Linked DNA regions of Homo sapiens: regions 1, 2 and 3 are each linked to region 4. The links are contacts of gene promoters, found by promoter capture Hi-C in blood cells and fetal thymus (Javierre and others, 2016). All regions are on one chromosome and are shown on one strand. Each heading gives the region's core, a stretch centred on a gene start or on the middle of the fragment in contact. The rest is flanking DNA. Distances are from core to core; before and after follow the strand shown. Region 1 overlaps DNAJC7 (DnaJ heat shock protein family (Hsp40) member C7). Region 2 overlaps DNAJC7 (DnaJ heat shock protein family (Hsp40) member C7). Region 3 overlaps NKIRAS2 (NFKB inhibitor interacting Ras like 2). Region 4 holds the start of RAB5C (RAB5C, member RAS oncogene family).

Evidence for each region. The method cuts DNA at HindIII sites, captures the fragments that hold promoters and counts their contacts. A CHiCAGO score of 5 or more calls a contact.
Region 1: a fragment that was not itself captured here is called in contact with the fragment with the promoter of RAB5C in region 4 in 1 of 17 cell types (monocytes); the score reaches 6.0 in monocytes.
Region 2: a contact is called between a fragment that was not itself captured here and the fragment with the promoter of RAB5C in region 4, in 3 of 17 cell types (erythroblasts, fetal thymus and monocytes). The highest score is 5.8, in erythroblasts.
Region 3: a fragment that was not itself captured here is called in contact with the fragment with the promoter of RAB5C in region 4 in 5 of 17 cell types (fetal thymus, monocytes, erythroblasts and 2 more); the score reaches 8.1 in fetal thymus.

The regions. Positions count from the first base shown.
Region 1 is chr17:41,978,306-41,981,625 of GRCh38, forward strand. All of the region lies in intron 12 of DNAJC7 (DnaJ heat shock protein family (Hsp40) member C7), which reads right to left. Among named protein-coding and RNA genes, the nearest start is that of CNP, 13 kb to the left of the region's middle. The HindIII fragment of the contact is 4,055 bases long and covers 1-3,320 here.
Region 2 is chr17:42,001,262-42,004,629 of GRCh38, forward strand. The region is part of intron 1 of DNAJC7 (DnaJ heat shock protein family (Hsp40) member C7); the gene reads right to left. Among named protein-coding and RNA genes, the nearest start is that of DNAJC7, 14 kb to the right of the region's middle. The HindIII fragment of the contact is 630 bases long and covers 1,446-2,075 here.
Region 3 is chr17:42,023,498-42,027,116 of GRCh38, forward strand. It overlaps NKIRAS2 (NFKB inhibitor interacting Ras like 2), which reads left to right. Exons shown (of 4, transcript NM_017595.6): 4 at 157-2,144. The coding sequence ends at 396. It overlaps ZNF385C (zinc finger protein 385C), which reads right to left. Exons shown (of 9, transcript NM_001392013.1): 9 at 2,079-3,619. The coding sequence ends at 3,400. Among named protein-coding and RNA genes, the nearest start is that of NKIRAS2, 5.2 kb to the left of the region's middle. RefSeq lists an enhancer at 1,440-1,489. The HindIII fragment of the contact is 911 bases long and covers 1,914-2,824 here.
Region 4 is chr17:42,153,388-42,156,645 of GRCh38, forward strand. It overlaps RAB5C (RAB5C, member RAS oncogene family), which reads right to left and starts at 1,602. Exons shown (of 6, transcript NM_004583.4): 1 at 1,506-1,602. RAB5C-AS1 (RAB5C antisense RNA 1) reads left to right here and starts at 1,013. Exons shown (of 3, transcript NR_187282.1): 1 at 1,013-1,322; 2 at 1,612-1,721; 3 at 2,381-3,258. RefSeq lists enhancers at 1,054-1,674, 1,584-1,878, 1,761-1,870. The HindIII fragment of the contact is 7,588 bases long and covers 339-3,258 here.

The sequences.
Region 1 (3,320 bases), core at 703-3,202, 170 kb before region 4:
ATCTGTGTGTCTTCCTGGGCTCCTGGCTTAGTGAATGACCCCGAGTCAGCTATGCCTGTCACTTTCCCCAACACATCTGAATAGCAACCAACTCCTGCTGAGTCTACCACTAACTAACTCCCTGACTGTGCCCTCCAATCCTTTCCTACCTTTTGTGTCTTCCTTCCATCTCCATTCTCCTTACTCCCTCCAACCCCAACCTCCTCACCCCTATCACAAATATATTTCCAGAGCCAAAATCTGGTCCACAGTGCCCCTACTTAAAACTTCACGGCTGGCCGTGGTGGCTCAGGCCTGTAATCCCAGCACTTTGGGAGGCCAAGGTGGGTGGATCACGAGGTCAGGAGATCGAGATCATCCTGGCTAACAAAGTGAAACCCCGTCTCTACTAAAAAAAATAAAAATAAAAATAAAATAAAATAAAATTAGCCGGGCGTGGTGGCAGGTGCCTGTAGTCCCAGCTACTTGGGAGGCTAAGGCAGGAGAATGGCGTGAACCCGGGAGGCGGAGCTTGCAGTGAGCAGAGATCGCGCCACTGCACTCCAGCCTGGGCGACAGAGTGAGACTCCGTCTCAAAACAAAACAAAACCTCTTCACTAGTTTTTGACTGCTTATAGATCTTCTTAACTGCTAGGCAGAGGAACATGTTTATTGTGGTGAACCTAGGTTTATTAAACACAAATACCCCCACACTGAACTGGAGAGGACTCAGCATTATCTATATAGTACCATCATTCTTATTTTAAATTCCGGCTGGGTGCGGTGGCTCACGCCTGTCATCCCAACACTTTGGGAGGCCAAGATGGGCGGATCACACAAAGTCAGGAGTTTGAGACCAGCCTGGCCAACATGGTGAAACCCCGTCTCTACTAAAAATATAAAAATTAGCCGGGTGTGGCTGCAGGTGCCTGTAATCCCAGCTACTCAGGAGGCTGAGGCAGGAGAATTTCTTGAACCTGGGAGGTGGAGGTTGCCGTGAGCTGAGACTGCACCACTGCACACCAGCCTGGGTGACAGAGTAAGACCATGTCTCAAAAACATAACAACAAAAAAAAATTAAATAAATAAATAAGTTGCAATGGAAGGCCAGGCACAGTGGCTCACGCCTGTAATCCCAGCACTTTGGGAGGCCAAGGCCAGTAGATCACTTGCGGTCAGGAGTTCAAGACCAGCCCGGCCAACATGGTGAAACCCTGTCTCTACTAAAAATATAAAAATTAGCTAGGCATGGGGGTGGATGCCTGTAATCCCAGCTGCTCAGGAGGCTGAGGCAGGAGAATTGCTTGAACCCTGGAGGCAGAGGTTGCAGTGAGCCAAGATGGCACTACTGCACCCAGACTGGGCTCAGTCTTAAAAAAAAAAAAAAAAAAAAAAAGGCCGGGCGCGGTGGCTCACGCCTGTAATTCCAGCCCTTTGGGAGGCCGAGGTGGGTGGATCACGAAGTCAGGAGTTCCAGATCAGCCTGGCCAATATGGTAAAACCCCGTCTCTACTTAAAATACAAAAATTAGCTGGGCGTGGTGGCGCACACCTGTAGTCCCAGCTACTCGGGAGGCTGAGGCAGAAGAATCACTTGAACCCTGGAGGCGGAGGTTGCAGTGAGTCGAGATGGTGCCACTGCACTCCAGCCTGGGTGACACAGCAAGACTCCGTCTCAAAAAACAAAACAAAACAAAAAACAAAATCCCAATAGATTTTCTTAGTGGAAGAGATGGTAGGTCTGTTCACCATTCACAGGTCAGGTCCTCTTTTTTTTTTTTTTTTTGAGACAAGTCTTGCTCTGTCGCCAGGCTGGAGTGCAGTGGTGCGATCTCAGCTCATTGCAACCTCCGCCTCCCGAGTTCAAGCGATTCTCCTGCCTCAGCCTCCCAAGTAGCTGGGACTACAGGCGTGCGCCACCATGGCTAGCTAATTTTTGTATTTTTCATAGAGACGGGGTTTCACCATGTTGGGCAGGATGGTCTCAATCTCTTGACCTTGTGGTCCGCCCACCTTGTTCTCCCAAAGTGATGGGATTACAGGCGTGAGCCACCATGCCCAGCAAATTTTTTGGCAGACAACTTAGAGTGAAGACTGACTGAATTAATTAATTAATTTTTGAGATGGAGTCGCACTCTGTAACCCAAGCTGGAGTACAGTGGCGCAATCTCAGCTCACTGCAACCTCTGCCTCCTGGGCTCAAGAGTTTTTGGTGCCTCAGTCTCCTGAGTAGCTTGGACCACAGGCATGCACCACCATGCTCAGCTAATTTTTTTGTATTTTAGTAGAGAGTACAATTTTTTTGGTATTTTGTATGTTGCCCAGGGTGGTCTTGAACTCCTGAGCTCAGGTGATCTGCCCGCCTTGGCTTCCCAAAGTGCTGGGATTACAGGCGTAAGCCACCGCGCCCAGCTCACAGGTCAGGGCCTCTTATCTCTGACAGCCCACAGTGAGCAACAATATTGACAATAGGTGTGCTTTATATCATGCTAAATCTTTTTGGGAAATTAAAATCTGTGAGTGTTTATAGGAATGTATGACATACATAAATGTCAGCATACACTTTGCAGTGGGTAAAAAAGAACTTCCAGATAATAGGAAAATGCTCATATTCCTTACCACATACAGCCCTTATGGCCTGTGAGCTCTGATCCAGCTACTTGCCGGCCTTCCACCACCACCTGCCTCTAGCACCCTATCCCTTTATCTTCCCTAGACCAAGCCCCCTGCAGATCCCCAAAGAGGCCATGCTTTGCTTTTTTAGTGGGGAGGGATGGAGTCTCACTCTGTTGCCCAGGCTGGAGTGCAGTAGCGCCATCTTGGCTCACTGCAACCTCCACCTCCCGGGTTCAAGTAGCTGGGATTACAGGTGTGCACCACCACACCTGGCTAATTTTTCTTTTTTCTTTCTTCTTATTATTTTTTTTAATTGAGACAAAGTCTTGCTCTGTCGCCCAGGATGGAGTACAGTGGGACAATCTCGGCTCACTGCAACCTCCGCCTCCTGGGTGCAAGCGATTCTCATGCCTCGGCCTCCCGAGTAGCTGGGATTACAGGCGCCCACCACCACACCTGGCTAATTTCTGTATTTTAGTAGAGACGAGGTTTCACCATGTTGGCCAGGCTGGTCTCAAACTCCTGACCTGGTGATCAACCTGCTTTGACCTCACAAAGTGGTGAGATTACAGGCATGAGCCACCGCGCCCAGCCTAATTTTTGTATTTTTAGTAGAGACAGGGTTTCACCATGTTGGCCAGGCTGGTCTCAAACTCCTGACCTCAAGTGATCTGCTTGCCTTGGCCTCCCAAAGTGCTGGGATTACAGGCATGACCCATGGGGCCA
Region 2 (3,368 bases), core at 511-3,010, 150 kb before region 4:
TGTAGGTACTTGCTGCCCTCTTTGTACTCCCTCCAGTACCTTATATATTCAGCAACTGGGTGATAGCAGTATTTTTTCCCTACCTCTAAGATCTATTTTTTGAAACTGTGCCATTAGACAAAGTATACTTTCCTAAACTTTGTCCTAAAGGAACAATGTTATATAATTGGGAATTAGATTCCCGAGCAAGTACCTAGAATCAAATCAGACATGACCAACAGTGTTTTAAAAGAACTAGTAACCTCTATCAAGATACTCAAAATCATTCCACTGCTCAAGTGATAAAGATAATTCTTTACTGAAATGATTACTGCAACATTAACTAAGTACCTGATCATTTTTGTTATGAGAAACATCTTTCTTTTCCTGTTGTTCACATGCAAAAAAGAACCTAGTTCGGGGTTGCCTGAAGTTGAGGCAAAAGTCCTAGTTCTTAAACCTTGGTGATGGTACAGCAATTTACAGCTTGAGTCTACGGATATCTGCATTAGGGAGATTTGTGATTTACTTAAGTATTTTAAACTACAAACTGGTAAAGTCGCCCTCCTTTTATTGAGGTGATCCTCCCTCTCCATTCTTCTCCATCACTGTCCTGGCAAGCCCTACTAATATGAAAAGGCTGCTAGAAGGAGAAGGCAAATGGGAATGACCTATAAATGCTGACAGCTGTGAAATGTGATGGATATAAATCTGCTTGAGTAACTGTCTATACCAACTATCACAATGCTGAAAAGAGGCCTTCTGCTATGAAAAATCTTCAAGAAAGATCCCCCAATTGCAAGATTTAAAGAACCAACTGAAATCTTGCTACATGGTATTCACCATCCTGTAACTCTAAATTAAGCAAAGTGCTTATAAAAACTCTCAGGAGCCTATCCTTTAAGAGCAGACATGCCAAGGGATTTGAACAAAGGACTTCCCCAAAACTGGATTTCGATTAGTCAAACTGCTGTGAAGAAATGGAGTAGCAAATTCCAAAGTAAGACATTAGGCCCAAACTCCATCAGAGAAGATCTAGCCTCTTCTTCAGTTGGCTAGTGGCTAAGAATATACAAATCTTTGAGGAAAACGAAGACATCTAGGTACCTGGGGAGACACTGTGTCAGCAGTATAAAGCTTGTTAGTCGAAAGTGAAATAATGTACAGGGCTGCTGAAAGGTGCCCCTAGTCTCCTCCTTCCTAAGACACTACCCCTATGGAGGTCGGGGAGTTCAGGACTGGCTTCTAGAAAAAATGCAAAGGATGATTTTGGTGGACAGTTACTAATAACTACTGAGGCCAGGTACTTTCCATACAGTATCCTCTATAAAACACAGTCCGGTGAACTTCATTATTCCCATTTTTCAAAAGAGGAAATAAGGCCTGGGGGTTAAATAACTTGCCTGAGGTCAGGATGTTACCCATGTTTGTCAGAATACAAAGCTTGTGCACTTTCTACTATGCCAAGCTTTCTCTCTAATGCTTGCCTCCGCTTACTGCTAACTATTTTGAAAATTAGTCTGTACTACGAGGAGTAAGACATGGACAATATATGTAAGACATGGACAATACATATAAATTTGTTTAAACTAAGACACACAGTACACCCCACATGTAATATTCAACCCCAGAACCAAAATCGGTATTTAAATAAGCTAAATGACATTCCTAACAATTAGTCATAGAGGAAGCAGGGCTCCTTTCTCTTTAAGATGCAAGACCTAGTGAACTGGACTTTGCCTCCCCAAAGAAATGCATTTCATTTTAGTAAATGGTGAGTAGATTCCATTCTAGAGCAAACAAAGCAAGTAATGTAGAGTCAGCCCACAGCAAAAAGAACAAGAAGAATTGTGTTGTGACAAGTTGCCATGTTTTTAACCTCACACTGCACAGCATCAGGCCAGAATTAGCTATTCCCACACAACTGCCTCATGAAAAGGACTTATTTTCATAGAAACGTGGCTGATTAACAGCTGCCTAAACAATGGGCACTTAGTGCTTTTAGACTGAACGCTTATTTTTTGCCTTCAGGTCCAATGCCCAAAGTGGACTGGAGTCCCTCCTTCATTTTGAACCTCCCCACCAAATACACAACAAGCTTTAACCAGTGGGCCTGACCCTGCGAGACCAGTCGAGGAAAGAGTGGATCTTTGGAATCCAGCATGGCAGCAGCAAGAACTGAACAAGGCTGCATCAGGAACAATTCCAGTGTCAAATCCATTCAAGTCCTGCCCTGGAAGTCTGAGAAAGGGCTGAAGCTTGTTCAAGTTGCCTTTACAGCAAAGGGACTGAAGGATGAGATGTCAAAGGCGTGGGACTGGAAAAAAAGGAGAAGAGCTGGTTAACACTGGAATTGAAGGCAATCTGGTGGTGGCATCTGTCACTCACTCACTGCCAGGGTCAATTCATCTGATAGCCAAGTGAGGTTGTAACATGCACCTACTGAAACACACCAGTACTGAGAAAAGAAGACTTAGGATTAATTGGCTTCACCTAGACCAATTAAAAAAAAAAAGGATTCCCAATGCACTAAATTAAACTACAGATTATTTTCTGTGGCTACAAAATTAAATTCAGATTAAACTCTTAAATATAATACCACAGCAAAATATAGACTTGGCCATAACTGACCTGATGGTACTATTAACAACTACAATATATTTCTAGTGTTATTTCAGATTTTCGAAGCATTTCCAATGAAGATTTTCAATTTTTTTTTTTTTTTTTTTTTTTTAGATGGAGTCTAACTCTTTTGCCCAGGCTGGAGGGCAGTGGCATGAACTCGGTTCACTGCAGCCTCTGCCTCCTGGGTTCAAGTGTTCTCTCGCCTTAGCCTCCCGAGTAGCTGGGATTACAGGCATGTGCCACCATGCCCAGCTATTTTTTGTATTTTTAGTAGAGACGGGGTTTCATCATGTTGGCCAGACTGGTCTCAAACTCCTGACTGCAAATGATCCGCCTGCCTAGACCTCTCAAAGTGCTAGTAGGATTAAAGGCGTCAGCCACCACGCCTGGCCAAGATTTTCAAATGGCCTTCTGAGGTGGTTATGGCAATAATTTCACCTATCCTCCAACAGAGGAAGAGCTAGTGAGGCAACCAAGATGGCTGCACAGGTCTCCTAAGTCCTAGAAGTTTATGTTTTCCCCCACATCCTGTTAGTGTCAAGGCTTTTAGATTAAAACTAATTTATCCAGTTCTCCCACCAAATCCTTGGGTCAACTTCTAAGCAGAATAGCTTCACAGCTCTGATTCACCAAGAGATGCTGGGAATGACTCCACCTCCACCAATCCAGTCTTTTCATTTTAACTGACAGTAATAAAGTTGCATGAAAACAGCTACTGAAAGGTTTTCCAAAAAAATCTGTCCTCTCTGGATGCATGGAGGATC
Region 3 (3,619 bases), core at 1,119-3,618, 130 kb before region 4:
TCCTTCCCCACAATGAGTGGTATGGAATCTAGAAAGAGATGAGATATCAGCCATTGAGCTTTCCTCTCATAGAACTCCTAGGTGGTTGCCAGCCCCCATGTCCATTCCTGGTTCTATGGTACATTCACAGGCCTATGCTCTGTCCCTCTTCCCCAGGTCACCATCGTGGTCCTTGGCAACAAGTGTGACTTACAGGAGCAGCGGCGTGTAGACCCAGATGTGGCTCAGCACTGGGCCAAGTCAGAGAAGGTGAAGCTGTGGGAGGTGTCAGTGGCGGACCGGCGCTCCCTCCTGGAGCCCTTTGTCTACTTGGCCAGCAAGATGACGCAACCCCAGAGCAAGTCTGCCTTCCCCCTCAGCCGGAAGAACAAGGGCAGCGGCTCCTTGGATGGCTGAAGAGCTGCCGTTCCTCTTTCACGATCCCAGCCCCATTTCAGTGTCTGGGGCTCTGGTAGATGTGTTGAGGGCAAAGTAGAGGACAAGCTGTCTTTCCCAGTCAGCCAGGGAGCTCCCCGCCAGGCCACGCCCCAGCCACTTTGCTCCCTCTCACCTCTGGGAAGTGCAAATACTCTTGGTTGACATCCCCTTCCTCAGCCCTCCCAGCCTACTCCCCATCCCAGCTTTTAGAGGATCTGCTCCACTGTCTCCTGGGGCAGTTGTGGGTCACTGTCCCTTCCAGCTGCCCCAGACAGGAAGCAGAGTCACCACGCAGCAGTGTCCCTTCTTGGGTCTGAGTTCCTATTATAGGTAGGGGCCCCACCCTCTGGGCTTCCCATCAGCGACACACACACACTTATGGCACCAGCCTGGACTCCAGAAAAAGGGTGTCCAGGTATTGTGTGTATGCATTTAGTTGTGCACACACAAATATGCTCCTATACTGGCATTAGGCGTCTCCTCATCCCTCACCCTGACCTTTCTCCTGTCCTTTTCTTGGCTGGAAGAAGTTGGCCTCCTGGGAGTGTAGTTTTCTGTTTTAAATCCCCCACCCCTGGCTGGGCTCAGTGGCTCACCCCTGTAATCCCAGCACTTTGGGAGGCCAAGGCGGGTCGATTACTTGAGGTCAGGAGTTCACGACCAGCCTGGCCAACATTGTGAAACCCCATCTCTGCCAAAAATACAAAAGTTAGCCGGGCGTAGTGGCACATGCCTGTAATCCCAGCTACCCGGGGAGGCTGAGGCAGGAGAATTGCTTGAACTCAGAAGGCGGAGGCTGCAGTGAGCCGAGATCGTGCCACTGCACTCCAGCCTGGTCAACAGAGCAAGACTCCATCTCGAAGAAAAAAAAAAAAAATTCCCCACCCCTACCAATTGTTTTACTTCCTCTTCCTGCTCAGGGAGCAGATGGGCCTCACTGGTTGAGATGGAATAGAATAACTGGGCTATGAGTCACCAGCCCACTTTGTGACCCAGCAAGACCTTTCCCCTCTCTGGGCATCAGTTTCTCATCTGTAAGATGACCAGAGTTGCTTAGATGATCTCCTAGATCCTTTCCAGTTCTCTTGATTTCGTAAAGCCAATGGCTTCTCCCTCTTTAAGGTGCTATGCCAACCAGCCCTGGAGGCTGGGATCTGCCGCTCCCTCCAGCCACCAGGGGGCAGGAGTGCACTACCTGCTGTCAGTCACCAGAGTGGCCGCTCAGTGCCCAGCCCGCCAGCCTCGCTCTTGGAGGCTGCTCTTTATCCTGCCTGTGGTTTTCAGCTCAGAGCTGGACTTCTATTTATAAGTTACCTGTATTTATATTTATATGCCCGCTCTCATGGTGAAGGCTGGACAAGGTGCTCCTCTGGCCCCTCCTTCTTACCTCAGATGCCTGAACAGAACAAGGCAAACCCGTAGCAGCCTCTCAGGAGCTGACAGGTCCTCTTTCGGGGCTCAGGAGGGTGGGCACACACCCAGCGGCCTGCAGAGTAAGCTTATTACCCACAACTGTGCCCGCTTTGTGCTTCTAAGGTGCACACCTAGCCTAGGTGAGACACTGCAGCCAGGCAACCACCGACACACGCCCCTTCTCAAAGCCAGAGGTGAGTGGGGCAGGTGCCCGGGGCTGGGTGAGTGGAATTAGGACACACACAGGCTTGGGCTTCAAGTTCATTTATTGATGCATTGGTTGGACACAATAAAACCACAATTGTTATCAAAAAGTTTCCCTCCCCTCCCCCTTTTTCTGGTTCTCCCATTGGAAATGTCTTTAAAAAACAAAAAAAAGATACAGGGGGATACTGGCAGGGTCCCATATTGTGGGGTGGGGAGGGGGCAGTGCTGCAGTGGAAAGGAGTTTGTGACATTGACATTGACAGCATGAAAATGGGTCTTGCCAGTGCATGTGAGACTGCCTCCCAACACTCAGCTTCACAGTGGCAGGGGCTGGTTGGGAGAAGGGAAAGCTGAATTTAGTGCTAGGACCAGTTTGGAGTGGGAAGCTGTAGGGGAAAGCTCTTCCTTTGGGAGCTCTGCGGGGGGTTCGGTGTTAGCTGAGTCCATAGTCTGAGGGAGACCCACACCCGCCCTCCAAGAGTTGGGGTTCAGGAAGTCAGAGAAAGGCTAAGAAGAAGAGCTTCTGAGGGATGAGTTACTCCCTCAATATTAAGACTGGGCTTATCAGCAAGTATCACTTGAACCAGGGAGGCAGAGGCTGCATGCAGTGAGCCAAGATTGCACCACTGCACTCTAACCTGGGCAACAGAATGATACTCTCAGACAGAAAAAAAGACTGGGCCCATGAATGCCCAGAAGACTTAAGATTAAAACAAAACCCTGGGCCCAACCAGAACATCACCTCCTCTCTTAGTCCCACCCCTTCAGAGCAGATGAAGCCCCCAAAAGCTTTCAGAACCAGCCCCACTACCTCCTTGGCTCTGCCCCACCTTAGCACTGCTGATCGAAGGACTTTTGGGTCCCCCTTTCTCCTCCATGGTCCTCTGTCACACTCCCATGGTCACCTTGTCCTGACAGCCTTGAGCCTGCTGCAGCTAGAGACCCCATCCCTATCTCCAGTGAAGCCCCAAAGCCTAGGAATAGAGGTCAGAGAGTCGTCCCCTGGCTAGGAGAGGATGGCTTGTAGAAGCTAAGATTCCTAGAGTCTGGCCATGTGGGTCTTGGGTGGAGGAAAGTGAGAGCACCACATGGCTGGGGCTGAGATTTTGCATAGATCTTTGGGGTCTGTCAGGGTGGGAAATGCAGGCAAGCCTAGGATTAACCCTGGAAGGCCTGCGAAAGGAGGGTGGGGACAGTCCTTGGAAGGCAGCTGCCCTTAAAACTAGCCCAGCTCTTTCTGGATCGGGCAGGACCCCTGAAGCTGTTCACAGTCCCTGTGGCATGTAGGAAACCAAGGTGTCTCAGGACAGGAGGAGACAAGGAGTGGCTATTGGGAAATCAGCTCTGGCCTCCCCATGAGGGCTAATAAGGGGCAAGGACGATAGGTCCTGTGGCAGGGCGGACAGCTCCTGCTGGGGTGCGAAACAGAGCTGGGCCCAGGATGGGAGCCGGGAAGAGGGTAGTGGCTGCTGTAGGGGCAGGGCGGAGGGCCAGGGGCCCTGGCAGAGCACAGATGGCAGTGGCTGCGGTGGGGAGCGGGCTGGGCAGGAAGCGGGCTGCCAACGTCTTGGTGAGTTGCTTC
Region 4 (3,258 bases), core at 352-2,851:
GCCTGGGCGACAGAGCAAGACTCCATCTCAAAAACAAACAAACAAAAAAGTGAAGAAAGTACATCCTAGCTCTACTCAAAAGACTGTAGGAATCAGATACTAGCCACTGTCCAGAAGCCCTCAAACACACCTCAAGGCCAAAAAACACAGCACTTTTAAGTGGCAAGCGAGGGTGGTAAAGGTAGCCCAGAACACTGAAGAGCTACAGAAGTTCCCACAAACTGCACGGCTTTCCGTCCCTTCCTCCACTGTAGATAGCAAGGGTCAGTCATGGCCTCAGAGCCAGGCTACTCCTCGTTAAGGTACAGTCTCCGGCCTGTACTTTGGCCACATAACAAAGCTTGGTCTGAGACAGCAGCTATTTCACACACCTAAGCCCCAAGCAACAGACAAGGATCAGTCAATATGGTTGAGGGAACCTGCACTTTCTGGCATGTATCGGAATTCCTCAGGCTACAATTAAAAATCCAGAACTGCCATTGTGATCTTGACTTAGTCCTCAGTAATAAGTCCAAGCCCTGAAGGGATTGCAGACAGACCCTGGCGTGGTGTGGACCTGTTGCTCAGGGAGGTGTATGTGTGTGTGTTTGGGAGTGGGAAAGAGATGGCCCTTCAATTCCAGACTCCTCATTTTGGGTCTTATTCTCCTCCCTATAGACACACGGACAGCAGTCCCAAGAAAAGCAGTCCCTTTGAGGCGGCTGGGAAACCACTCACGTGCTCTGGGAGGACAGAGCTGAGCCTGGAGCAAGGGGGGAGGGGAAAGAAGATAATGAATGGGCACATCCACCCTGATCTGTGATCTGTAGCTAGGATTGAGCAAACCTCAGCTAAATTCTTCAGAGGCAGAAAGAGAGAGACACTCAAAGAACAACATAACTAGAGGACAGGGCTGGGAGACAGAAGGGGCAAAACAGGAAAACAGCTCATTTCTAGTAAGTGACTTTAAACTCAGCTGAGGTCCTGGTTGGTTCTCTGGCTTGAGGAAAGAGAGGAAGTAAGGAGTTGCGGGAGCGCACACACACTTCTGTGCGTGTGGAACGGTCTCACCCAGACGACCCCCCTCCCCCAAAGGAAATCGAGATATTCCTCTAGGGCTAGAGGGGACAACTGGTTTTGTGGGACAGGAGGAAGGAAAACGGCGACAGACAGCACTCCCTGTCACTTCTAAAAGAGAAGAGGGACAGGTTCCTTCACACCTAGCAAAGATCCTCCGATTCTGGAAGCAGGGGGAGCGGAACTTAGGGTACCTCTCTCCCACAACTAGAATGGACAGGCCAGAGGACAGTCATAGCGGTTTCCTTAAGGCTCACCAAAGGCAGGTAAGCTAAGGAAAGAAGCTCCCCACCTCCTATGGCCCGACGCCTGGGGAGCCCCTCAAGAGGGGGCTACGGGTCGGGGGAGGGGTCAGTATCCCCCTAAACTGGGGCTGGGCGGGAGGAAGGGCTGCCCTGGAGATGCTTCAACGCAGGCGAGACACCAGGTCCTGGGACAAGCATACTCACGGCGGCTCCGGGGCGGCGGCGTTACTTGGGGCCGGGGCTCGGACGGGATCCGCTTCTCTCCCCGCCGGCGGTGTCCCAGGCTCCGGCCTCCACTTCCGCCTTTCAGCCGCTCCGGATCCGGATCTCCACCTCCGCCCCGCCCCTCAATACTCCCAGGTGATTGACAGTGCGGAGACCAATGGGAGGCACTCTTGGCCGACCTACCCAGCGGCGCCGGTAGGAACGCGGGAGTGGCGGTAGGGAGCGCGCGAGGGATCGCGGGACTTGTAGTTCGCAGCGCTGGGAGGAGTCAGTGGCTGCCTGGGACTTGGGCTTAGGGTGGAGCCGGCTGACTGCGAGGCGGAGCCCGGCCGGAACTTTTTTTTTTTTTTTGAGACGGAGTCTTACTCTGTCGCCCAGGCTGGAGTGCAGTGGTGCGATCTCACTGCAACCTCTGCCTCCCGGGTTCAAGCGATTCTCCTGCCTCAGCCTCCCGAGGAGCTGGATTATAGGCACGCACCACCACGCCCGACTAATTTTTGTATTTTTTAGTAGAGACGGGGGTTTCGCCATGTTGGCCAGGCTGGTCTCGAACTCCTGACCTCAGGTGATCCGCCCTCTTCGGCCTCTCAAAGTGCTGAGATTACAGGCCTGAGCCACCGCGCCCAGCCTACGGCCGGGAACTTTTTAAGGCTAACCCTGCCATCCGCGTCACCGCCGGTTCCGGACGCCCCGAGGGAAGGCGGGTGGTGGAGCGTTGGAAGAAGGCAGAGGATTGTGTGTGCAGAATTGGGAAAGAAAAAACGTGGTGCGAATGAATATGCACGCGAGGCCTCAGTCCTGTGAACTCGCTGATCTGGAGAAGCCCTTGTCTGCACTGTCCGCCCGATTGCCAGGGGCGTCTGTGATTGGGAAGGTGAGGAAAGCGCTGCAGGAAGAGTTCTCTGCAGGATGCTGGGTGAGATCAAAGGGAGAGCTTCTGCCACCACCTCCTACTTGGTGTGTGCGGGGGCCGGCACAAAGACCATCTCTGCCTCTGCCTTCCCCTGCTCCTAGCCAGGGTCAGCTCTTCTCTCTGACGCGGAATACAGAGCTGGACAACCTCTGCCTCGGCCCTCTCCATCCGTAAATAAAGACTAGAACCACCCCCACTCTGCACTCTCCCCCTCTATGGATCAGGAATATTTGTTTTTTCTGCTCCTCTCAATATGGACTGGGCCCGCTCCTGATTCCTCCCACCCTTACCTCTCAACACAAACCAGTACCTCCTCTTCTTTTGCATCTCATCCTCAAGGGACACTACTGAAAACCTGTGTGGAATCAAAGCTCACCGGAGACAGCTGTGGCCATTGTGCCTATAACGCCAACACCAGGCATATCCTGGAGCCTCAGCTGGAGAATTTACCTGTCTTGGACAACCTGCCACAAAACTGTGCCCACATCTAGTTCCATCTGGTCATCAGGGCGTCTCTCTTTCTTACACCCATAACACACAATCCCCACTTCCGCGCCAGTGTTCATGAGAAGTGAAAAGGAAGAGGGAAGAGAGGGCTTGTTGGGAGGACAGAGGGGATGGGGCAGAGTGGGATTCCTAGCAGGTTCTGGCTGGTGACAAGCTCTTCCCCCAGCCCCCTTGCCATACCCAGTTCTGGAACAGTTCCTTATACAGGAGGGATGGGTAGTCCCCTAGGCCCACCTTTCCAAGGCTGGAGGTGGGCCAAAGCCAGGACTCTGTCCTTCCCACATACTGTGTGCATACATGGCTGTGACTGGG